Linked DNA regions of Homo sapiens: all the other regions are linked to region 1. The links are contacts of gene promoters, found by promoter capture Hi-C in blood cells and fetal thymus (Javierre and others, 2016). All regions are on one chromosome and are shown on one strand. The core of a region is centred on a gene start or on the middle of the fragment in contact, and the rest is flanking DNA. Distances in the headings are between cores, read along the strand shown.

Region 1 (3,227 bases), core at 327-2,826:
TATCTTCCCAGGAAGTTGTCTTGCTTTTAAGCTTAAGGGAAATGCCAGAATAAACAGCAGCCATGGCTAGGCTTTATCTAAAATTTAAAAACAATGGGAAAAAAAATACTATAACAATGTCAGACTGAGCAGGCACCAGAAAACCAACAGTATTGCAGTACTGTATCTTGTTTACCTAATATGTATTCTTTTAAAAGTTTTTAATGAATCAACAGATTTGTCGGGGTAAATCTACATACAAGATGCTTGACTCCAGAATTTTCTGGGGGAAATTCAGACAAAAGCAAGCAAAAGATGGACTGCACACACAGAAGATGGACTATATGTATTCCAGCTATGATCAAACATCACTTCCACAAAGGTGAGTGTTCAGGAATTCAACAAGGCCAAAATCAGTGATTACATTACTTGTGGAAAGAGTCATTCATACATGGTTTCAAATTGAAAGAGGAAAAGATACATAAGCAATATCCGGAGAAAGTAATATGTCTCCAAGTGAAAAAGAAAACCCCAAAGGAATACAGTTATTTCAGCTGCAACAGTAACCTTCCACTAACACTTTTATTCAGTCGTGTATAAATTTACAACGCACATACACTTCAAAAAAGACTCTACAAGAGATACTTGCACAAGGAAAAGACTAAAAATAGAAAACAAAAAACCATGAAATCTCGGGGGTAGCAAACATACCAAACACCTACAGTTACTATTAAACTGGGTAAACTTGGCTTTGAGTTTCCTAAAAGTTATAGTAAAAAGGAACGTTAAGACGTTTTCATTTTAGAAATTAAGTTATCCTTCACTCTACTGCAGAGAACAAGAACGTCAAGTGCTGTCAGTTTTCCTATTTTGTCAAAATGTCCAAAACGAATTCAACGATGCCTGACTTTCTAAGTTCAATACCATAGAACCGCCATCGCGACAGCTACAAAGTGCATAACAGGTGTTTGCTGAACTGGCTACAAAGACAACCGAGATGCTCTCCCCGGCTCCGCCAGAGTTCGGCTCTCCGGGCCTCCAACCGCCCTTACCGGGCAATGCGAAGTCCAGGGCGGACAGCACAGCCCTGCCAGCACTCCCTGCCCAGCAGAAAGAGACCAAGCAACAAGAACCAGGGGAGAGCAGCTAGGAGCCAGGAGGGAGTTCGCCTTCGCGAATGGAGCGTGCCGAAGCCGCTCCAGCCCAGAGTCTGCTGGCGGCACCGGAACTGGGCAGGGTTGGGGGGCCCCCCATCTGGGCCCGGCCTTAGGTAGGGGGATCTCCTCTGGACCAGCCCCGGGTGGGGGGACTCACCTCGGGACCTGGCTGCCCGCAGGGGCTGACCGCAGGTGGGGGACTCACCTCGGGATCCGGCCCGGTAGGGGGCTCAGCTCGAGACAGCTCCGGGTAGACAGGGGAGGACGGCGGCAGCGGCGGCGGCTGCTGTCCCGGTGCGGCGGAGGCCGCTGTACGGGTCCCGCGTCCCCACCACGTGGGACCGGTACCCGCGCTCCTTCCGCCGGACGCCGGCGGCGCAGCGGGGAGGGGCTGCACGCACGCCAGGCGTCGCCAGCCGAGCGCCGAGGCGCCTCGCCCATTGGCGGAGACGGTTGCGCGTTGGAGGCCCGAGCGGCCCAGCCCGCGGCCCGCTCCGTGTCAGTCAGTCATGGAGCGGCCGCCCAGAGCGGCGGCGGGGGCGGCGGGGCGCGGGGCGCGGGGGCCCAGCTGAGCCGGCCGTCGGAGTGAGACCCTGCGGCAGAGACGACGGAGGCGGAAGCAACCCGATCCCGGAGGCGGCGGCGGCGGGGGGAGCCGGAGCCGCCTGGGATGTTCAGTGAGTGCCGGGAGCACGGGCGGGGAGGGCCGGGAGGGTCGCGAGGCGCGCGCGCGCGCGGGCGGGCGGGGGCCGGGGCGGTGGGGCCTCGGCGGGGCGCGCCTTGGCTCCCGCCGGCGGGCGGTGGGGGTGGGGCGCGGGAGGCGGGGCTGGGGGGCGGCGGGCGGCTCTGCGCGGGCGCGACGGCCGCGCCTCCGCCCTCGGCCTCCCGAGTCCCGGGCTGCGGCCGGCGGCGTGGCCTGCAGTCGGCGGCTACACCTGGACTGGCGTCGCGTTCCTGCGCAGGGGTGGGTCCTGCGGGTTGGATGCCGGGCTCGGGGAGGAGGTGGCGGGCGCCCGCGGGGAAGGTATCCCAGTGCCCGACAGCCAAGCAGGGAGCACGGCTCCACAGCTCCTTTGCATGTAGGGGAAAAGGAAATGTCTTTGCGGCGAAGTCGGGATTCAACTTTGCACATGGTGATCGTGCGTGGGTGGGTGTGGAGTCGATCTCCGCGTGTGACACGGGGGAGCCAGAGTTAGACTAGCTGCTGCAGGAGAGTGCTTACCTGCAAGGGTGTCTCTCGGGGCTCGTTGCCTCATGACAGCAAGGTAAGGTTGGTGCGCCCATGGTGTGGGACGGGTTCACCACCTCCAGCTCGCGAAGCTGCCAGGCTTTTGAAAATGTATTCGATAAGGCGTTGGTCCGAAGTGAGTGGATGGTTAGAAACAGTGGTGTCATTTTAGACTTAGCGGAAGTGGAGTGCAGGAACGCTACATGCAGTTCTCCCATCAGTTGTGAAAGTCGTTGTAATGCGGATCTCGCAGTCTTTGTGGTTCTGGGATCAGAAGGTAAGTGCCAGTCCCATGCAGTGTCTGTCTTAAATTACTGTACCTAAACTGACCTTGCAGATTGGAATCTCGGAATGGTGACTCCTGCTAACAAGCAGTTGGGAGCTGTGCTGAGAGGAACATTAAGTGCGGAGCGTGTCTTATATCAGGCGATTCAAGTGTGCCAACACCTGAGTTGGGGATGTAGGGGAGGACACGGAGGCTGTGCCCCAGTTCCTGGTCACAGCTCTACTTGGAAGGGGGAGTAGGAAAGGGAGTTTTGTGCTTAATAGGTTAAATGCATCTGGCCACATCTTTAAACTTTGGAACAGCATAATGTAGTGGATAGAGCTTGGTGACAGTAGACCTAGGATGGAAACCATGTAGCCATCTGCATAACCTCTCTGAACTGTAGTTTCCTCATCTATAAAATGCGATGATAAGGAATAACTTAAACGTGGATTTTTTTTTATCTTTAAGAGACAGGGTGCCTCTATGTTGCCCAGGCCTGGGCTCAAGCAGTCCTCCCGCCTCAGCCTCCCAAAAAACGACCTTTTTAAAGGTACCCAGAAAAAGAATGATGTGTATGAAAATAGCTAAATGTTAG
Region 2 (3,227 bases), core at 208-2,707, 690 kb before region 1:
CAAGAAGCAAGAAGATTGCAGGTCCCCAGGACAGAGCCTGGAAGGTTCTGAATCCTTCCTGTGTGGCCCGTGTGTCACCATCCTCCCCAGGGACCCAGGCTCAGCCCCCCCAACAGTGAGGGGGGGTCACCAAGCATCAGGCTGAGAGGAAGCAGGGCAAACCCGGGAGGGCCATGGGGCCTTGCAACTACGCAAGCCTCACACATTCTCCTCCAGTCTGCATTCATGGCAAAAAAAAAACATTTCCCCACTTGCCTGGGATTGGGGCGAGAACAAGTCAACGACACTGATGGGGGAGAAAGGTGACCTTGGGTGTGGTACCTCCCAGATCTGTCTCCTGCATCCTCGCAGGTGCTGTGTTTGAAAGGTATGACAGCGGTGGCTAACAGGCAGGCACACTTCCAGGCGGCTTGGGGTGGCCCTTCTGCCCCAGAGCCTTACTCCTCACAGGGATCCCTGTGGGTTAGGCATGGACTGTCACCACGCCCAGATGGAGTGGTGCAATGGTTCGCCCAGGTAAGCAGACCCGGGTTTGCCTGACGCAGGAGGCCGCGTCCTAACTGCTGTGGGCACTGGCTGTCCTGATTCATCACGAGGACGGGGGATTTTATCCCTGACTTACCTGACAACTTTGTGGGGGATTTTCTCCTTTCCATATCCAATCCTCTCTGCTGATCCGAATACTGAAAACAATCATTATGAGATCCGGGACATCACCCTCCCCCTGGGTCCTTTTCTTGTCCTAGATGGAGATGGGTGTTTTGGAGCTTAACAACTACTGAAGCTGAAGTTAGCCTGGTAGGGAGCCACTATTCTGGGGGGCATTTGGACAGGGCAAGCCCTTGGCCACACCAGACCCTGAGCCAGAAAGAACCATAGCGATTTCCTCACCCAGATGGCCCCAGCTCACAGTATGGGGAGAGTGGGATGGGGTGGGGGAGTGGAGCCAGCTGTGGGGTCTCATCAGAGTGCCCTGGGATCTAGGCCAGAGGCGCCGTCTTCACCCACATGCCAGCTTTGTGGTTCTGGTCCCTCTTCCTTAAGCGAGGGCTTGCCAAGCTTTGGCTGTGGAAAGCCTTAGCCTTGTGTAGTGGGAGTTCCAAACGAAAGAAGTCCCCAGAAGTTCACAAGGTAGTGGCCAGGGAAAGTGTCCCCAGTGCCCCCTCCCCACCGGTGGCCTCTGCAGCTTGCTTTGGAAAACAGTTCTGTCTGTGAAGAAATCTCTCCTGTTACGGCCCTGTGTCAGTCAATGCGGGCTTGGCTGTCTGCCCAAATACCTTCCGTTCTTATCAGGAACATGACTGAGGCTTCTCACTTTTGACTCCATCACTTAATCCCTTTTTCTCCGTGGCTTCTGTGTGTCTCATCTTCGAGAATATTTCTCAGCCTTCTTTGCAGGTATGTTATTCTCTCCCAATAAGAAATAAAGAGTATCAGGTACCAAAGTGGCACTTAGAGCTGTTGCCATAAAATAGCACCAGAGAGTAAGCATGCCCTCTGGCCACGCAGCTCGCTGCCATTTAGCCATCTCTGTGTCCCTCCCTCCCTGGGGTGCCCAGTGCGCACCCCAGTTCTCCAGCAGCCCAGGCACATTCTCCTAGCTCTGACCCCTGTCTGGTGGGGGCCGGGCAGCCTCTCTTGAGTGTAGGGCGGTGGTGCTGGCGCTGGTGGCAGCTCTGTGTGAACTGTGTTCCGGGGAGGGTGGGGCACCTTCACCCTTCCGTGTATACCCATGTATACACGGTCGTAATGAGGAGACTCCTGCGGGAGACTTGATTGTGCGCTCCATGTCACTAGCTACTCTACAAGCAGATACTATTCTTCAGGTTTTTTCCTTAGTTGCCTGGAAGCTTGACCTTGTGTGCATGTATTTGGAGATGAAAACAGAAAGGGCGGGGAGGACATCGGCTTGTGTGAAAGACCTAGGAAGACGATGGAGGAGTGTGTGCGGCTTCCCTCACGTGTCAAGCCTCCTGGCTCCCTCAGGTGGAAGGGGCACTTTATGGCCAAGGAAATTCAGTGAGGAGTGAAGGGTGAGGCTGAGCCCGCCAGATAAATCAGCCTCGGCCCTCCCCTCCCCAAGGGTCAGCCCCCGGCAGCGCACCTCTGTTCTTGGTGCGTCTCGCTAGTCTTTGATTCATTCTTCTGCCGTCTTCACCCAAGCCTCGCTGGACTAAAGAGTGACAGTTAATGCACATGGAGCATTTCTGTTCCAGCAGGTCACGTCTCCCTGTATGGTTCCTTTGCTGAGTCCTCAGCATTGCCCTGGGAGCTGACAACCATCGGTCCCCCTTTTGTGATGGGAAAGTGACACTCTGAGAGCCGTGGTGACTCTACAGGGTGTGGAGCCAGGTTGACCCTCACTCTGTCTGCTCCAGGGCTTCCTGGTTCTCAGCCACTGCTGCTTCTGAACTGCTACAGGCCAGGCATTGTGCTAAGAACTGGGCACGTGTTACCCCAACGTGGTCTGTGCCCTTGAGGGTGCCATGACTGAAACACGTTGGGGGCACAGAGCAGGCTGATTCTCCGCCGAAAGAAGGCTCCAGCCAGAGGCCGAGACCCCGTGTGGGGGAGGTGGCAGTCACCATTGCTGCTGGACTCAGCAACCCCCAGACCCTCCACCTTGCTTGGCAGGCATCACATGCACCTGGCTTAGCACATCCCTGCAAACACAAGAGTCTGAGCCTCCTCAAGAGGCTGCAGTCACACTGCATTTGACCAGGACTTGCCAACCTGCAACTTGCCCTGAGAGCCAGGTATGCGTGTGTGTATCTGGGGAGCACGCCCCAAACATGAGCAGGGACGGTGTTCCCAGCTATCCGAGAGGTCATGCCCAAGCCAAAAGGAAGGCTCTAGCTCTTAAACATGAATAAGTTTATTCCTTTCATTTCCACAGTGTCTTATGCTTGCTTCTGTTTTCTCCAAGGAAGTATGGTGCCCACCTACTCCTCCAGCCTGACGATCCATGTGAGGGTTCCTTGTTCCCAGCCCAATTCTCATGTCCCACCTTTCTCCACTAAGAAACAGCCAAATTTTGGCAAGAGTCGTGGTAGGAAAAAAAAACAATAATTGGGCAGATGAGGATTTTTCACTTTTTGACTAGTTCTTTCTCTAGACTTTCCTGTCTTTTTAAAACTTCTAGTTTCCCCCTTGAGCGCTCCCTCCCAGTGGGTAGACCACGGAAGGAATGAACAGGGGATGGAAGCAGGGGATGCAGTCCCTATTAT
Region 3 (3,227 bases), core at 247-2,746, 680 kb before region 1:
GTGAGCTGTCCGTGTGTTTTCGAGGGGCTGCCCTCAAAGGAAGTGATGGCCAACTTGATGGATGGTGAGGTCTACTGTGACCCCAGACTCACCATCCTTAGGATGAAAGTTGAGACTAGATACTGTATTAAGACACCCGGGTGCTTTCATATGGTGCTACAGTATCTGGACCCGTTAATGATTACTGATTGGGAGACAGTGGGTCCTCAACACAGTTCTGGGTACTCTGGGGTTGCAGAGAAGCTTAAGGATAACAACAGCTGACATCGTTTTAATGCCACTTTTTAAGAACCACACATTCTACTAAAGGCTTTAACACACATTAATTTAGGATTAAAAATATTTAATCCTAACAACAACGCTTTGAGGTAGGCACTCTTATTATCACTAATTGGCAGATGGAAAACTGAAGCACAGAGAGGTTAAGTAACTTGCTCAAAAACACATAGCTCGTAAGTGATCAAGCCAGGATGTGAATTCAAGCAGCCTGATTCCATGGCCCATACTTTTAGTTATTATACCACATGGCTAAGATGTGGCTGCAGGTAGATTTTAGCCAACCTGGAAAAACCTGCTTTCATTCTATGGAACCACTTAGAAAATACACAAGGCAACGTGAAATTCAGAGGTCATTGTTGTCACTTCTTAAAAGTGCAATTTGAATTGAGAGAGCACAGAGCTCAAAGTATGGCCCCCCCTGAGTTGATTTGTAGGAGGAGTGAGTAAAGAAGGCCGGATCTAGAGGAGGGGCTGTCTCAGGTGCATCCCAACTGGGAAGAAGCTTCCATAAAGAAGTGGGGAAACTGGAAGGGCCTTGCTGAGGTCTCCAATCAGCTTTAAAGATTTGAACCTGCCATGAGAAGAAGACTGAACTAATTCAATATAGCTCAGGGGTCAGAATTAGAGGCAAATTTGGGCTCCATACAAGAGAATTTTTTCTAATCGTCTGAACAATCTGCAATGGGTTTTACCACTCTAGCAGCTGTGAATCCATTCTGTGAATCGCAGAGCTCTAGAGAAGGTTCTAAAAGGAAACTCGAGAGACAGCCGGCAATTCCAGCATGCTGCGGTGCTGGAGGTGGACACTTCAGGCACTTTTTACTCAGAGACCTTGTAGAGAGAGAGGGCTCTGTGACCTTCCCGCCACTCTACTGTACAGAGCTCCTGTCTAACAAGGAGCCAGAGATCCATGTGCTGACATCGCGGATGGGCTGCCCTGCCCACTGGAGCCCAGCCCTCAGTGCTCTCAAAGACACAGGGACACCTGGCTCATTTAGAGGCTTCCAGGCTGGGCGTGGTGACTCATGCCTGTAATCCCAGCACTTTGGGAGGCTGAGGCAGGCAGATCACTTGAGGTCAGGAGTTCAAGACCAGCCTGCCAACATGGTGAAACCCTGGCCTCTACCAAAAATACAAAAGGGTGTGGTGGCGGGTGCCTGTAATCTCAGCTACTCAGGAGACAGAGGCAGGAGAATCGCTTGAACCCAGGAGGCAGAGGTTGCATTGAGCAGAGATCGCACCATTGCACTCCAGCCTGGGTGACAGAGCGAGACTCTATCTCAAAAAAAAAAAAAAAAAAAGGCTTTGAGTTAGACTCCAGAGGGAAAGCAGCCCCAAAGCCCACAGGGTGGCATGCCTGGCTGAGGACCAACTGACCTGTGGAGACGCCAAGGCCAGCCTTGCCGACCCTGTCTCACCTTGCTTGAACTGTGGTTCTCAAGCCCTGCAGGTGGTCAGGCCCTTGGAGTCCACAGCACTTGTTAGAGAACACCAGGCACTGTTGACAGGCCACTGGAAATACCATAAATGTCTATGCGACTGCAGACACAGCCACACCGAGTCCAGCATGGCCAGGTGGCTGCCGATGCTAAACACGGACATGCTCGTGGGAGCGGAAACTCCATGCAGAGGAAGGCCCAGCTGTTATTTCTTCTATATTATTTTTTTCAGACTGGGAAAATAAAGCCATTATTCTATCACCCCCCTCACCCGTGGAAGTTCAGAGTTCAAGGGAGGGGACTAGAGAGCAAAGGCCTCCAGAGAGCAGGCGAGGGGCTGCCAGGGCCACTGAGCCTCTGCAGGGTGCTCAGCCACCACGTCCGGACAGAGCTTGGCCCCTCTCGTCAGGCTTCCTGGGTGTGCCTCAGTGATTCCTCCCTGCCCTGCCCCACTCACACCTGTCAGCAGCCTGGTGGTGAAGGGGAAGCTTTCTCTGCTTAGCGGGCCGGGCTGTCTTTATGCCCAGCCGGACGCATCCTTGCTAGGCATTGAGTTGACAGTGCAGCCGCCCCGGAAAAGCTGGGGTCTCGTGCGCTGCGGTACGGGCATCTTCCAGCAAGAAGGGTGAGGAGGTCCCCAAGGTCTTTCCAGCACCCCTGGGAGAGACGGGAGTCTGTGAATAAAGCCTTGGGCGCAGCTGAACGAAGGACTTTTTCTCTCAGCACAACTAATGTGAGAACACTGTCACCTGCTTCCATCTCTGGGGAATGCATTTTCTGAACAGGTGCTGGCCCCGGCCCTCCCCTCCACACCACCTCTGCTTCAAATGGGAAATCTAAACCTCTCAAGGCCCAGAGGCTGTTTGTTTCTCTCTTATTTCTAAGGCATCCACCCATGAGTGCTAGAGAAACCTACCTTTCCTGCTGTTGGAGCCTTCTAGGACCTCCCTGTCTCAAAAACTATGACCAGCACCGTGCTCATGATCAGCGGGCTGGTGCGCAGTGGTGGGGATGGCCTTAAACCCCGACTGCCCAGGTAACACCCTCATTTCAGTAATGGCCCATCATGATGGCAAGCCTTAATGGGAGGTGTGGTGGGCAGAACGAGGAGCCCCGACCCCGAAACAAAGAGGCTCACCTCCTAATCCCCAGGACCTAAGCCTATGTTACTTTTCACAGCAAACAGGAATTCAGGTAGCAGAGGAGTTCAGGTTGCAATCAGCTGTCTGTGAGGCAGGGAGAGGACCCTGGAATATCCTGTGGGTGCAGTGTCATCACAAGGGTCCTTGTGAGTGAGAACCTTTCCCAGCTGTGTTTACAGCGGAGACACGGCTGTGAAGAACGCAGGAGGTGCAACGTTGCTGGCTTTGATGATGGATGGGGGGATGTAAGCCAAGGGGCATGGACACCTCTAAAAGCTGGGCACAGTGTGAAGTGGAATCCTCCCTCAGAGCCTCCAGAAAGGACTGCAGCCCTACAGACACCTTTACTTTCGCCCAGGGAGGCCGT
Region 4 (3,227 bases), core at 366-2,865, 650 kb before region 1:
TAAAAAAAAAAAAAAAAAGAAAGAAAAACAGAAAAATCCCCCTTTAAAAATCTCTAATGTTTGTTCTTAAAAAAAAAAAGTAACATTTTTTTCTTCCCCAAAGCTCGTTTCAAATAATGAAGTCTGTGGTTCTAATTAATTTTTTATACTGTGTGCACGAAAGCTCCTTCACCTAAGTATTTTTTGCAAATCCTTTTGACATTGCAGAATTAAATTTTCTCACTCCTGCCTCCCTTTCCCCTTTGACTCTGCAAATATGCACAACATATGAAAACATGGACGTGCCTGGAAACCAAATGTTCCAACTGGCAAAGCCAGTTCAGTTCCAAGATAAAATTTGCTAAGGAGCTTCCTCTTGAGGGGCCAGTGAGTGAGGCAGGGAGGAGCCGGTGCAGGCAGAGGAGCCCAGTGCTGGGGACCCGACCTGCGCGAAACACCACAAGGATGTTGTCACTTGTACCCTGCTTTCCTTATTTCCGTCCACCTGCTCACCTGGAGTTCTTGCCAGCAGGGAAAGACAGTGCAATCAGAGGAGCCGGGGAGGCTTTTGCTAAGTGCCTGTCATTGCCTCTTTCATTTCCAGCTCCCTCGTTGCTGTCAATCACCCCTCATGCTGTTTTTCCCCATTGTCATGTAAAGTGTGTATGTATTGAGGCTGCCCTGTTACTCTGAGCAGCCAGGAATCTTCTCAACAAAGAATTCGGAATGAACGGAATCTGATTCTGGCCACTGGAGGGACTGCCTGTCATGTGTCAAAGCATCAGCTAAATCAAGAACCTTAGAAAAACAACAACAAAACCCCAGCTCCGTCTCGCACAGGTGGCCTTGTGGGCTCTGATCTGTCTGTCTGATGGGATTGTGGTTGGGGGTGGGGAGCGCAGATTTTCAAGGCAGTCAGACTCTACTGAAACAGCCCCCACATCCTCTCTAATAGCCTGAGTCTTGGGGTTTAAAACCTAACAGATCCCCATTTATACATGCCATACATCCAGAAAAACTTATTATTTATAGGTCTTTTCATGCTTCACAAAGGTCCTAAGCCGTGTCAGTTATGGTTCCCCAAAACTGGGACTGAAGCAGAAACACCTGTCAATTCTTGAAATTAAGCAATATTGAAGTAATATTTGTTTTTTAAAAAGGTGTCAACTAAAGTCATCACTTTATCAATCCATTACATCCAAAGACATCTCTGCTCCGTTACATCCCAGGGGAATGTGTTTGAGACTCACCCAGTACTTGGCTCAGCAGATGCCAGCCTTGCCCTCGAGGAGCTTCCTCTCGAGGGGCCAATGAGTGAGGCAATTTCTAGGTGGTTTGGGTCCAAGCGGTGCTAGCCTTCTCTTGTTTAACAGGCACTCCCTTACACATTTTGGTATCAAGTCATCAACACAGATGGACATTTAGAGATGCGGATTGTGAGCAGAACCCTAGAGAGGGGCTCCCACTGCCAGGACAGGCTGGGACTCTGCAGAGCAGGGAAGGAGGAGCACCCAGAGCTGGCGCAGGGGTTTGGAGACAGACAGGTGAAAGAGGGCCCTCTGCAGGCGTCTCCCTGACAACTGGGGTCAGAACCGGGGACTCGGTCCTGGCCTTGGTCTTCCCAGATGACTCCAGGGTGGAGGCAATGACTTTCTGAGACTTTTCTGTTGTGAAATCAGGGTTAGACTAGAAGCTGGCTTAGGCTCTTGGCTCCAGTAGGTTCTGTGCCTCAGTTTCCCTACATCCCATCTATCTCTAAGGACCGACTGTAAGAACAGGGGCAGGCACTCCAAGTATGGGCATACAGGGAGGACCTTTTGTGCTTGCATTTCTATTCCTGACACTAACTGTTACCCCATGCCTTGAGAAAGGGTGTGTCCACAAGCTGCCACAAGGGAATACGTCAGAGAAAACCGGCTTACAAGGCAGGTAGAAAGTCTATTCTGAAATGTTTAAAGAAACTGTGTGTATATGTGTGTGTGTGTATATATGTATATATATGTGGTGTGTATATATATGTATATATCTGTGGTGTCTATATATGTATATATGTGTTTATATATGTATATATATGTGGCATGTATATATACGTATATATATGTGGCATGTATATACGTATATATATGTGGCATGTATATATACGTATATATATGTGGCATGTATATATACGTATATATATGTGGCATGTATATATACGTATATATATGTGGCATGTATATATGTATGTATCTGTGGTGTCTATGTATATATGTGGTGTTTATATATGTATATATCTGTGGCATTTATATATGTATATCTATGTGGCATGTATATACATGTATATATGTGGCATGTATATTTGTATATATATGTGGCATGTATATATATGTATATATCTGTGGTGTATGTATATATGTATATATATGTGGTGTTTGTATATATATATGTGGTGTGTATATGTGGTGTGTATATATATGTGGTGTTTACATATGTATACATGTGGCATGTATATATGTTGTGCTTGTATATCTATGTGGCGTATATATATGTGGTGTTTATATAAATGTAGCATGTATCTATATGTATATATATGGTGTGTTTATATGTATATATATGTGGCGTTTATATATGTATATCTATGTGGCATGTATATATATGTATGTATCTGTGGTGTGTGTGTGTATATGTATATATATGTGGTGTTTGTATATATGTATATATGTGGCGTGTATATATATGTGGTGTGTATATATGTGGTGTTTACATATGTATATATGTGGCGTGTATACATGTGGTGTTTATAGATGTATATGTGGCATGTATATATATGTATACATATGTGGTGTGTATATATATGTGGCGTTTATATATGTATAAATGTGGCATCTATATATACGTATACATGTGGTGTGTATATATGTATATATGCGGTGTTTACATATGCATATATGTGGCATGCATATGTATATATATGTGGTGTTTATATATGTATATATGTGGCAGGTATATGTATATGTGGTGTGTATATATGTATATGTGGTGTGTATATATATGTATATATATGTGGTGTGTATACATGTATATATATGTGGTGTGTATATATATACGTATATATGTGGCATGTATATATGTGTATATATGTGGCGTGTATATATGTATATATGTGGCATGTATATATGTATATATGTAGCATGTATATATATGTGGTGTGTATATATGTGTGTATATATATGCTCACATATATACACACATAGACACACACACTTGCA
Region 5 (3,227 bases), core at 509-3,008, 630 kb before region 1:
TCCCAGCACTTTGGGAGGCTGAGGCGGGTGGATCACTTGAGGTCAGGAGTTCAAGACCAGTTTGGCCAACATGGAGAAATGTACTACTAAAAATACAAAATCAGCTGGGTGTGGTGGCGCATGCCTGTAATCCCTGCTACTCAGGAGGCTGAGGCAGGGGAGTCGCTTGAATCCGGGAGGTGGAGGTTGTGGTGAGCTGAGATCACGCCATTGCACTCCAGTGTGGGCAACGAGATCGAAACTCCGTCTCAAAAAAGAAAAAAAACCAAAAAGTTTAAAAATGGCTGGGCACGGTGGCTCACGCCTGTAATCCCAGCACTTTGGGAGGCCGAGGTGGGCAGATCACCTGAGGTCAGGAGTTTGAGACCAGCCTGGCCAACATGGTGAAACCCTGTCTCTACTAAAAATACAAAAATTAGCCGGGCATGGTGGCACATGCCTGTAAGCCCAGGTACTTGGGAGGCTGAGACAGGAGAATCTCTTGAATCTGGGAAGTGGAGGTTGCAGTGAGCCGAGATCGCACCTTTGCACTCCAGCCTGGGCAACAGAGCAAGACTCTGTCTCAAGAAAAAAACTAGACAAAAGATAAGCTAGCAATCCCCACACCCACACCCACCCCAAGGCTTTCCCTATTTCTGTAGGGGCAGCACGCCAGCGCAGTTGTGTAACAAAGCTCCTGGGCATCACCCTAAATTAATTTCCCGCTCTACCTCCCTTCTCTCTGCCGCCCTATTAGCAAACAGCTGCCTGCTTCACCATGGAGCTGGATCTCACCCCATCTCCACTGCTACACACCTGCTCCAGGTACAGCCAGGTGCTGCTTAATGAGAGGGATACAACCTGAAAAATGCATCCTTAGGCGATGTTGTCGTTGTGTGAACATCATAGAGTATATTTACACAAACCTAGATGGTGTATCCTTAATATACACCTAGGCTACATGGTACAGCCTATTGCTTCTAGGCTACAAACGTGTAGAGCACATGACTGTCCTGAACACTGGAGGAAACTGTAACACAATGGTAAGTATTTGTGTATCTAAACAAAGAAAAGGTAGAGTAAACACACGGTATTATAATCTTATGGGACTACTGTCACCGACCGAAACGCTGTTACAGGTGCATGACTGTATCACATCTCTGGCCTGGGCTACTGCAACAGTGCTCACAGGACCCTTGCTTCTGGCTCCAAGAGTGGAGGGGGCACTCGTACCATTGTTTCACCATAGGGTCACCACCTGGCCACCCTCTGCCCAGCAACCATACGGACCTTTCCAAAGCATAAAACAGACATCAGGCACTGCTGAAAAGCCCCAGTGTTTTCCTTCAGAATCAAATAACATCCAACGTTTCCCATGACCTGCAAAGGTGCATGGCCCGGGCCTGTCTAGCTCTTCTGCCCCTGTGCACTGTCCCCTTACTCTCTAGGTTCCAGCTACCCTTGGCTTCCATTTGGCTGATATGCCAAACGCACCTCAGCAGCCTGGATCTGCTCCTCCTGCAGGTAGTCTGATTCCTCGGGGTCCCAGAGGGACCTCCTCCCACCTTTCAAGTCTGAACTCACATAACACCTCCTCAAAGGTTCTCTTGACCATGAAAACCTCTCCTACTGCTTGTCCTAATCATGCCCGACCACATGACTGCATCTTACCTTCTTCACAGCATTGATTACTATTTGAAAATACCTTATTTAGCTGTGTGTTTTGCTGTCTACACTCAAGAGAAGGCAATCTCCCTGAGATCTGGCTTGTACGCTGTTCTATCTTTAGCATGTAAGAGAATTCCCTAGAAGGACACTTGGCTTGATAGAACGGCTATTTGCTATTTTACTTTCGGAAAGCCCTTCCGTTGGCATCTTCATGTTTACTAAAATATATCTACTCTCCATCAAGAATCGTGACTCTGTGTCACGATGTCTTGTGGTATACACAATTAGTACAGCTTGACTTTAATATTTGCTATGGTTTGAATGTTTGTTCCCTCCAAAACTCATGTTAAACTTTAATTGCCATTATAACAGTATTAAGAGGTGAGGCTTTTTTTTTTTTTTTTGAGACAGAGTCTCGCTCTGTTGCCCAGGTTGGAGTGCAGAGGCACGATCTTGGCCCACTGCAAACTCCACCTCCCGAGTTCAAGCGATTTTCCTGCCTCAGCCTCCCGAGTAGCTGGGATTATAGGCGCCTGCCACTATGCCCGGTTAATTTTTGTATTTTTAGTAGAGATGCGGTTTCCATGTTGGCCAGGCTGGTCTCAAACTCCTGATCTGCCCAAACTCAGGTGATCTGCCCATCTCGGCCTCCCGCAACGCTGGGATTACAGACATGAGCCACCATGCCCAGCCGAGGTGAGGCCTTTAAGAGGTGACCTTTAAGAAGTGACTATGCCATGAGGGCTCCACTCTCATGGGGGGGATTGATGCTATTATAAAAGGGAGAATTTGGCCCCCTCTTGCTCTTTCCTGCCCTCTCTTTGCCCTCCCACCATGTGATGACACATCAAGAAGACCCTCGCCAGACACCAGCACCTTGATCTTGGACTTCTCAGCCTCCAGAACTATGAGTAGATAAATTTCTGTTCATTTTAAATTACCCAGTCTGTGGTATTTGGTTAGAGACGCATAAAATGGACTAAGACAATGTTGCTTTTAATTGCACCTTGAATGGTTATAAAATGAACTTTCTTCTTTAAAAAATTTTCCCATAACATTTTGGGGGGTGGTGTACAGTTCTAAGAGCCTTCACACTCATGAAGATTTGTCCAACTACCACCACAACCAGGAGACAGAACAGCTCCGTCCCTCCTCCAAACATCCCTGGTGCTGCCCCTCTGCAGTCACACTCCCCGCTTTCCTGCCATCACAGCTCCTGGCCACCACTGGTCTGGCCCCATCCCTAAAGCTGTGTTTTTATGAGGCTGTGACATGAGTGGAATCATGTATGTAACTGCTTCTCTCACTCAGCATCATGCCCTGGAAAGGCGCCCAGGTTGTATCCTGCATCCGTGGAATGCGCCTTTCAATTGCTAAGTGGTATTCCATTGTATAAATGCACCACACCCACTGAAGGACATCTGTCCTCAAACAGCCCAAGGTCAGGTCCTGCTTTCAGGGTAGTCATCAATGTTTTGGACCCCGCTCAGCCTTTCACTACTTACCGGGCAAAGACAGTGCCACTGCCACCCGGGAACGTGTAGGGGTGCTGCTTCCGGAACACGTGTCCCACACGGCTG
Region 6 (3,227 bases), core at 271-2,770, 610 kb before region 1:
GGTTTAAGATGTATGTAGAAGAAAAGCATGATAACGATAGTACATAGGAAGGGAAATGGAAATGCAATTTAACTATTGTAAAATTCTTAAATTTAAAGTGGTATGATGTTGACTCTTAAGCAGACTGTTGTAAGTTAGAGCTGTATGTTGTAATTCTCAGGGCAACTGTGCATACATGAAAAGTATTGCTGAAAAGCTACAAGAATAATTCAAATGGAATACTAAAAAAATCACTGAATCCAAAAGAAGGCAAGAAAGCAGGAACACAGTTACAAAAAGCAAAATGCACATGGTACAAATAGAGAAGAAACAGCCGAAGAGCAGACCCAAACCTAGTCACACCAATGATTACGCCACATGTAAATGAACTACCCTCAATCTGGGTGGGCACAATCTAATCAGCTGCCAGCACGGCCAGAATAAAAGCAGACAGAAGGATGTAGAGAGACTGGACTGGCTTGGTCTCCCCCGGCCTACATCTTTCTTCCACGCTGGATGCTTCCTGCCCTTGAACATTGGACTCCAAGTTCTTCAGCTTTGGGACTATTGGACATTCAACCACTGACTGAAGGCTGAACTGTCAGCTTCCCCACTTTTGAGGTTTTGGGACTTGGACTGGCTTCCCTGCTCCTCGGCTGCAGATGGCCTATTGTGGGGCTTCACCTTGTGATTGTGTGAGTCAATATTCCTTAATAAACTCCTGTTTATATATACATCTATCCTATTAGTTCTGTCCTTTTGGAGAATCCTAATACAAAAGCCAAATATTGGTTCTTTTAAAAAATGAACAGCGTCGATGAACAGCAGACAGATAAAGAAAATAAGAAGATATAAATTACCAAAATCAATAAAATAGTAATACTAATCCGACAAACAGTAAAAAAAGAGACAATATCATAAGCAACTTTGAGCCAATAAATATAAAAACGTTGATAAAATACAAAATTTCTTGAAACAGACACAAAAAGAAACAGCAGATCTGAATACGCCTATATCCATTAAAGAGATTGAATTAGTTATCAAAAATCTTTCCATAAAGAAAATTCTTGGTCCAGACTGGCTAATTCTATTAAACATTTAAAAAAGAAATAATTAAAATATTATACAAACTCTTTTAGAAAATAAAATAGAAGGGCACACTTTCCATCTTGTTTTATAAGGCTAGTAAACCATAATGCCAAAACTGGAAAAATACATTTTAAGAAAATTACAGACCAATGTTTCCCATGAACACAGGTATAAAAATCCTTAACAAAAATATATTAAAAGGATACTGTATCATGACCAACTGGGGCTTATGCTAGGAATGCAAAGCTGGTTTAACATCTGAAAATCAACCAATGTATTTCACCATATTAACAGATTAAAAAAAGAAATACCACTTGACTATCTCCACAAATGCAGAGAAAAAGATTTATCTCATTATTAACATGGTTTTGGTCCTACTATTGTCATTAAATAGCTGTAAGGGCCTTGAGAAAGCCACCTAGCCTCTTTAGATTTAGTATTTCCATCTGTAAAATGAAAGTACTAGGCTCTCAACTTCCACTGTACATCGGCATCATTTTAGCAGCTTTTAAAAATGCAGCTGCCCACACCCCACCCAGAGAAATCCAGAAATTTCTATTTAATTGTGAATGAGGGCAAGACATGGTCCTAAATTCCCTAGGTGCTTCTAATAAATTGCTAGGTTAAGAATCAATGCACAATAAAATCCACAGAAGAATGATCCTAAGACTGCTTTCACTACCATAATATTTTAGGCAATTAATTTACTTTGTCATCTAGTAGCATCACTACAAGCACTTTGTGTGTATGCTTACATAGATGGGATCTTATACACACACATGGGTACATATATACATGAGTGTGTGTGCAAGTGTGCACATATTTTCTCATTCAATTGTTACAGACTTCAGCTGTTCCATATAGGCTTTCCATAATCTGGCTTCTCCCAACCCACCCTTCTCATGCCTTCCCCGAAACAACGTATCAGCACGGGTTCAACCGAAATGAACATTCTAGCGGAAAGTTAATACTGAGAAGCATTGTTCTGATTTCTAAGCAGTTTAAAGACAAAGACACTGTTAGATAAGGCTCATAAGTGATTTACAGTGCCAACACTATCTCTCTTTCCTCCTTCCCCACTTCTCTTTTTTTTTTTTTTTAAAGCCTGTGCCAGGTGATGGGGTAGGATGGCAGATACTTTGGGTTTAAATTCATAAAGTTATTTTGAAGGTGTTTAGGGGGCAGCAAATTGCCCCCTTTTTGGTTTATTCCAGGCTTGGTGGACTGATGTGAGTCTGGCAAACAGCTTGTTTAGAAGGCAAGGCTTATCCCACTGTTTATGTATCTTGAATGTCTAGGTTGATGACCCTAGTTGGTTAAAATATGATGCTGTTCTAACAGGCTCAATCACTGTGTTGGCCAATAAGATTCCTGGTAAGAAAAACTTCACTCCTTGACTCCAGCTGGAGTGCATATGTAATGAGAAGAAAGAGTTTTACACTGATGAAGGAATACAATCACCACCCCTGGATCAACAGTCAGACTTAAATAGCAAATGTGGCATGGGTTCCAAAGCTCTGTGATTTTCCTATACTGAAAGATTTCTCCCAACCATGGAGGAGCCTAACAATTCAGTCTTCAGGGTCTCTAACAGCACTGACACACTGGATGTTAATTACATTGTGATTGGAGCTTCCTTCCCAGACACTCCAGTGTACTACTTTCCTCCTTTACAGCCTCTCTTCTAACTGCCAATAAAAGAGTCCTCATGAGCTCAGCTCCAGCACAGATAAGACTGACAGAAGGTTCCGAGGTTGGCATTTGCAAAATCGCATGAGCATATAATTGCAGTACTGTCTCCCCATTTTGGATGGTTCACCTTCAGCAGGCTGTCAAACTTGAATCCCGGTTATTTTATCAGATGCCTGGAGCATGGAGTCATTCAACTTCTTATTGCTAAATCTTTGTTTTTCTTCTAAACTTTTGTATTCAAGGGACTGATAAGACTTCCTAGGTTGTGAAAGAAAGAAGCCAATTTTCTAAATACATAAATGAAAATGTAATTTGATCCTGCTCTAATATACTAATAATTTCAATTAGTCAAGCTTTTAATGTCTTTCCTGTGTTTGCTGGGAGAAGTCTCCCAAGCGGCTCTGGTAGAGGGAGACAGAAAAAAGCTAGACAATTAATTGCTCTTTGAGCTAAAGCACTTCTTTATG
Region 7 (3,227 bases), core at 432-2,931, 540 kb before region 1:
CATGTAGCAGAAGTAGCCATGGGCCCTCCTAGTTTCATCACCTAGGGAGAACAGGTAAAATATAGGTAGAGAAGTAAGATCAGCCTACTGCAAGCTTTGAAAGCTCCAGCCCAACAGCTCCCAAAACCTCTACTTAGGCAAGAATCAAAAGATATGAAAGGTTTAAGAATGAAGACCTGGGTAGAGTACAGAGTGAGGAACAAGACAGAAAGGCCAAGTTTTGGATTTCCCAAGGCCTGTTCCTGCCCTGGCCAATATAATTACAACTTTAGGGAATGGGACCCAGCCTTGGGGGTTTTTCTAGAAGCTCCCAGGCAGTTCTCAGTGTTCAGAACCACTGGCTTCATCCATGCATTTCCAGTTTCACTTTCACTGCTCCAACTTAGTTTATGAAACTCAATGCTGCGAAAATGAGAGGAGGGCAAATTTCTATTTTGGATTCAAAGTCACAAACTGCTTTATACATACTCCACTTGCTCACAAATAAAAAATATGTTATGATAAAGGTCAGCACTTCACTTATTTTACTGTGTAACCTCAGAGAAAAACACACTGGTGGGGAATAACGTGGGGCTGCTCAACATTTGAGAACTGTAACAATGACTTGTGCTGAAGTCGTGAACTACAATCGCATAATTATTAATTCTCAACCATTTAACTTCTCTAACAGGCAGAAAGCCTGGTGAATCATCCTGCACATTGATTCCACGCACAGTCGGTCAATTGTCTTCATTTAACAAAAATCCTCCTATTTAAATCCCTATAGCTACGCACAGATGAAATGGCCATCGGTGACCCAGCCAGTTGAGTCTAGAACCTCTGGGCATAGAAAATGCAACTAGGAATAGTTTGCAAATGCACTGGCATATCCAGTAAATCCTGGTCTATCTCTATGACCTTAGGCAACTCAGGCTGCTTCTCTGAGCCTCAGTTTCCCAAGATATAACATGAAAATGTAAGAACCACTCTATCCCATCCCCTTTGAACTATAAGGCATGACACAAGTTAGACATTAAGTCCCATCATTAAGAACATTAAACTTGCCTTCTTCCAATCTGGGGGTCCAGCCTTTACTCCTCTTCCAGTTACTATTCAGGGGTACTAAACTTCCCTTTCTCTCCATAATTAACTCATTCAACAACTTGTTTACAAATTTATGCATATTTTACTTCTGTGGTCTTCCTCTCCCAAACCCATAACTCTCATCTAATCATGAGAAAAAACATCAAACAAACCCCAGACGAGGAATATTCTAAAAAATCCCTGACCAAGCCTCCTCAAAACCGTCAAGGTCATAACAAAAAAGGAAAGTCTAAAAAAATGTCACAGTAAGAAGACATAATCACTAACTGGAATGTGGTATTCTGGATAACATATTAAAACAGAAAAAGAACACAAGGGGATGTTGTAAAAAATCTGAATAAAGAGAGAACTTTAGTTAATAACATATCAATACTGGTTCTTTACAATAAATGAATCATACTGATGTAAGATTTTAATAACAGGGAAACTTGGTATGATATATATAGGAACTTTCTGCACAATGTTCCCCATGTTTCTGTAAGTCTAAAACTGTTCTAGAAAAAAATAAAATTGTAAAAAATTACAAAAATGTGCGCATAATCCTATTTACCTAAAGGGAAAGCAACTACACTGAAAACTCCTGGGCCAACATCCGTCAATCATGTATTTCCTGGGTGCCTGTTCATTTTTAATGGAAATTTTAAGCCCTCTTGCCTCCCTCTTCGTTCAAGAAAACTCAGGTACAAATCTCTTGATAAATGCTCGAAAGCCAATCTTCCAATGAGAATAATCAGCTCAGCTCCGGGGACAGGAGGGGCAAGGCCTCAGAGGAATCTATTCCACGCCACCATCCTCTCTTCAAGAGCTGCCAGACCATCCTAAACGTTTTAGCCCAGAGAAAGCGAGCACAAGGGATGCCACTCGCATGCAGCTTTTCCTCATTCCTAGGTCTAAGTAAGAGTTTATGAAGCAGGTCAGCTCTTAGCTCCTGGTGATAACTTCCCATTCCTGAAGGCAAGAACAGCAGGTCCTTTAAGAGATGATATATAATTCTAGCCCTAAGTTAGCTGAGCGCCCGACACTTTAAGGAGTCTTTTATGGCTCCATTTTCTAACACTTGCTCCGAGTCCACCGCCTCCCCAGTCAGGGGGTGGCACACAAAGCCCTCTCTCAACTGCAGCTCACTTCTTGTTCTGGGTTTCCCAACCACAGCTGAAGCAGGTTCTTTTACTTTAGAAAAATGAAGAATTTCTGCACACTGGACTAGAAAATGTCTCTTTACAAAAAAAAGGGGGGGGTATTTTAGAAAATTATTTCCCATGTGATTTATGTAAAAATCAATTGCATTTTAAAAATTTAAAAATAATCATTGCCAATAGGTAAGAAAAAAAGGTGGGAGGAGAGAGGTGAAGCCCTCAGGCAGCACTTGGTGATGAGCGGGGCCCAAGGGCCACAGTGGAGCAGCCGCAGGGAGGCCAGCAGGAGGCAGCCTCGTCAGCCGGCCAGGCTGCAGCCCTGCACATTTCACACCCGTGCTGCTCCACCGCCCCTTCCTCCCATCACCACGGCGCTCCTCCACGCTCGGCAGTTCCCTGACCTCCATGTCAATATCCCCGCAAGGCTGCTTTCCTCCCCACTTCACCTCAGCCCACAAGCAGGTCTCACAGAACTAAAGTGCAATGCTCCTTGTCACCAGTAGGTGCCACCATCTCCCATGACCACCTGGTTAAATCCTTCCCATGAGGGCCTAACTTCCATACAACTGGTTCCTTCCTAGGCCTGCTCTGTAACCACTGAGTCAGAACTGGCTCCATGCTGGGAGTGGTGGCTCACGACTGTAATCCTAGCACTTTGGGAGGCCAAGGTGGGAGGACAACTTGAGCCCAGGAGCTCAAGACCAGCCTGGGCAACGTGGTGAGACCCTGCTTCTACAAAAAATTTTAAAAATTAGCCAGGTGTGGGGATGCACAGCTGTAGTCCCAGCTACTTGGGAGGCTGAGGCAGGAGAATCACCTGAGCCCAGGAGTTTGAGGCTGCAGTGAGCCAGGATCGCATCATCGCACTCCAGCCTGGGCAACAGAGTAAGAGACCCTCTGTCACCCCCCACCACCAAAAAAATAAAACACTTGACTCTGTTTTGAAGAGCATCTCCAAGAAAAAAAAAAAAGAGTCTCAGAATGATATGCAAAGAGCCCCAAGAGGGC

Evidence for each region. The method cuts DNA at HindIII sites, captures the fragments that hold promoters and counts their contacts. A CHiCAGO score of 5 or more calls a contact.
Region 2: a fragment that was not itself captured here is called in contact with the fragment with the promoter of TAF5L in region 1 in 1 of 17 cell types (naive B cells); the score reaches 6.3 in naive B cells.
Region 3: a contact is called between a fragment that was not itself captured here and the fragment with the promoter of TAF5L in region 1, in 12 of 17 cell types (erythroblasts, naive B cells, endothelial precursors and 9 more). The highest score is 13.1, in erythroblasts.
Region 4: a fragment that was not itself captured here is called in contact with the fragment with the promoter of TAF5L in region 1 in 5 of 17 cell types (fetal thymus, megakaryocytes, endothelial precursors and 2 more); the score reaches 11.0 in fetal thymus.
Region 5: a fragment that was not itself captured here is called in contact with the fragment with the promoter of TAF5L in region 1 in 7 of 17 cell types (megakaryocytes, endothelial precursors, M2 macrophages and 4 more); the score reaches 10.4 in megakaryocytes.
Region 6: a contact is called between a fragment that was not itself captured here and the fragment with the promoter of TAF5L in region 1, in 8 of 17 cell types (megakaryocytes, M1 macrophages, endothelial precursors and 5 more). The highest score is 9.2, in megakaryocytes.
Region 7: a fragment that was not itself captured here is called in contact with the fragment with the promoter of TAF5L in region 1 in 7 of 17 cell types (fetal thymus, total B cells, total CD4 T cells and 4 more); the score reaches 7.7 in fetal thymus.

Annotation. Positions count from the first base shown.
Region 1 is chr1:229,624,471-229,627,697 of GRCh38, reverse strand. It overlaps TAF5L (TATA-box binding protein associated factor 5 like), which reads left to right and starts at 1,576. Exons shown (of 5, transcript NM_014409.4): 1 at 1,576-1,813. URB2 (URB2 ribosome biogenesis homolog) reads right to left here and starts at 1,451. Exons shown (of 10, transcript NM_014777.4): 1 at 1,342-1,451; 2 at 1-77. The coding sequence starts at 64. RefSeq lists enhancers at 878-957, 2,618-2,667 and silencers at 1,148-1,847, 1,938-2,127. The HindIII fragment of the contact is 3,723 bases long and covers 34-3,227 here.
Region 2 is chr1:230,316,441-230,319,667 of GRCh38, reverse strand. PGBD5 (piggyBac transposable element derived 5) reads left to right here. Exons shown (of 7, transcript NM_001258311.2): 7 at 1-3,227. It also overlaps the pseudogene LOC124904587. Among named protein-coding and RNA genes, the nearest start is that of PGBD5, 110 kb to the left of the region's middle. RefSeq lists enhancers at 1,986-2,485, 2,486-2,987. The HindIII fragment of the contact is 791 bases long and covers 1,062-1,852 here.
Region 3 is chr1:230,300,055-230,303,281 of GRCh38, reverse strand. No RefSeq gene overlaps it. Among named protein-coding and RNA genes, the nearest start is that of PGBD5, 120 kb to the left of the region's middle. The HindIII fragment of the contact is 1,425 bases long and covers 784-2,208 here.
Region 4 is chr1:230,274,904-230,278,130 of GRCh38, reverse strand. The region is part of intron 15 of GALNT2 (polypeptide N-acetylgalactosaminyltransferase 2); the gene reads right to left. Among named protein-coding and RNA genes, the nearest start is that of PGBD5, 150 kb to the left of the region's middle. The HindIII fragment of the contact is 4,857 bases long and covers 1-3,227 here.
Region 5 is chr1:230,255,270-230,258,496 of GRCh38, reverse strand. It overlaps GALNT2 (polypeptide N-acetylgalactosaminyltransferase 2), which reads right to left. Exons shown (of 16, transcript NM_004481.5): 11 at 3,153-3,227. Among named protein-coding and RNA genes, the nearest start is that of PGBD5, 170 kb to the left of the region's middle. RefSeq lists enhancers at 2,722-3,222, 3,223-3,227. The HindIII fragment of the contact is 4,016 bases long and covers 1-3,227 here.
Region 6 is chr1:230,236,784-230,240,010 of GRCh38, reverse strand. The region is part of intron 6 of GALNT2 (polypeptide N-acetylgalactosaminyltransferase 2); the gene reads right to left. Among named protein-coding and RNA genes, the nearest start is that of GALNT2, 170 kb to the right of the region's middle. The HindIII fragment of the contact is 3,191 bases long and covers 1-3,115 here.
Region 7 is chr1:230,167,056-230,170,282 of GRCh38, reverse strand. All of the region lies in intron 1 of GALNT2 (polypeptide N-acetylgalactosaminyltransferase 2), which reads right to left. Among named protein-coding and RNA genes, the nearest start is that of GALNT2, 100 kb to the right of the region's middle. The HindIII fragment of the contact is 3,170 bases long and covers 97-3,227 here.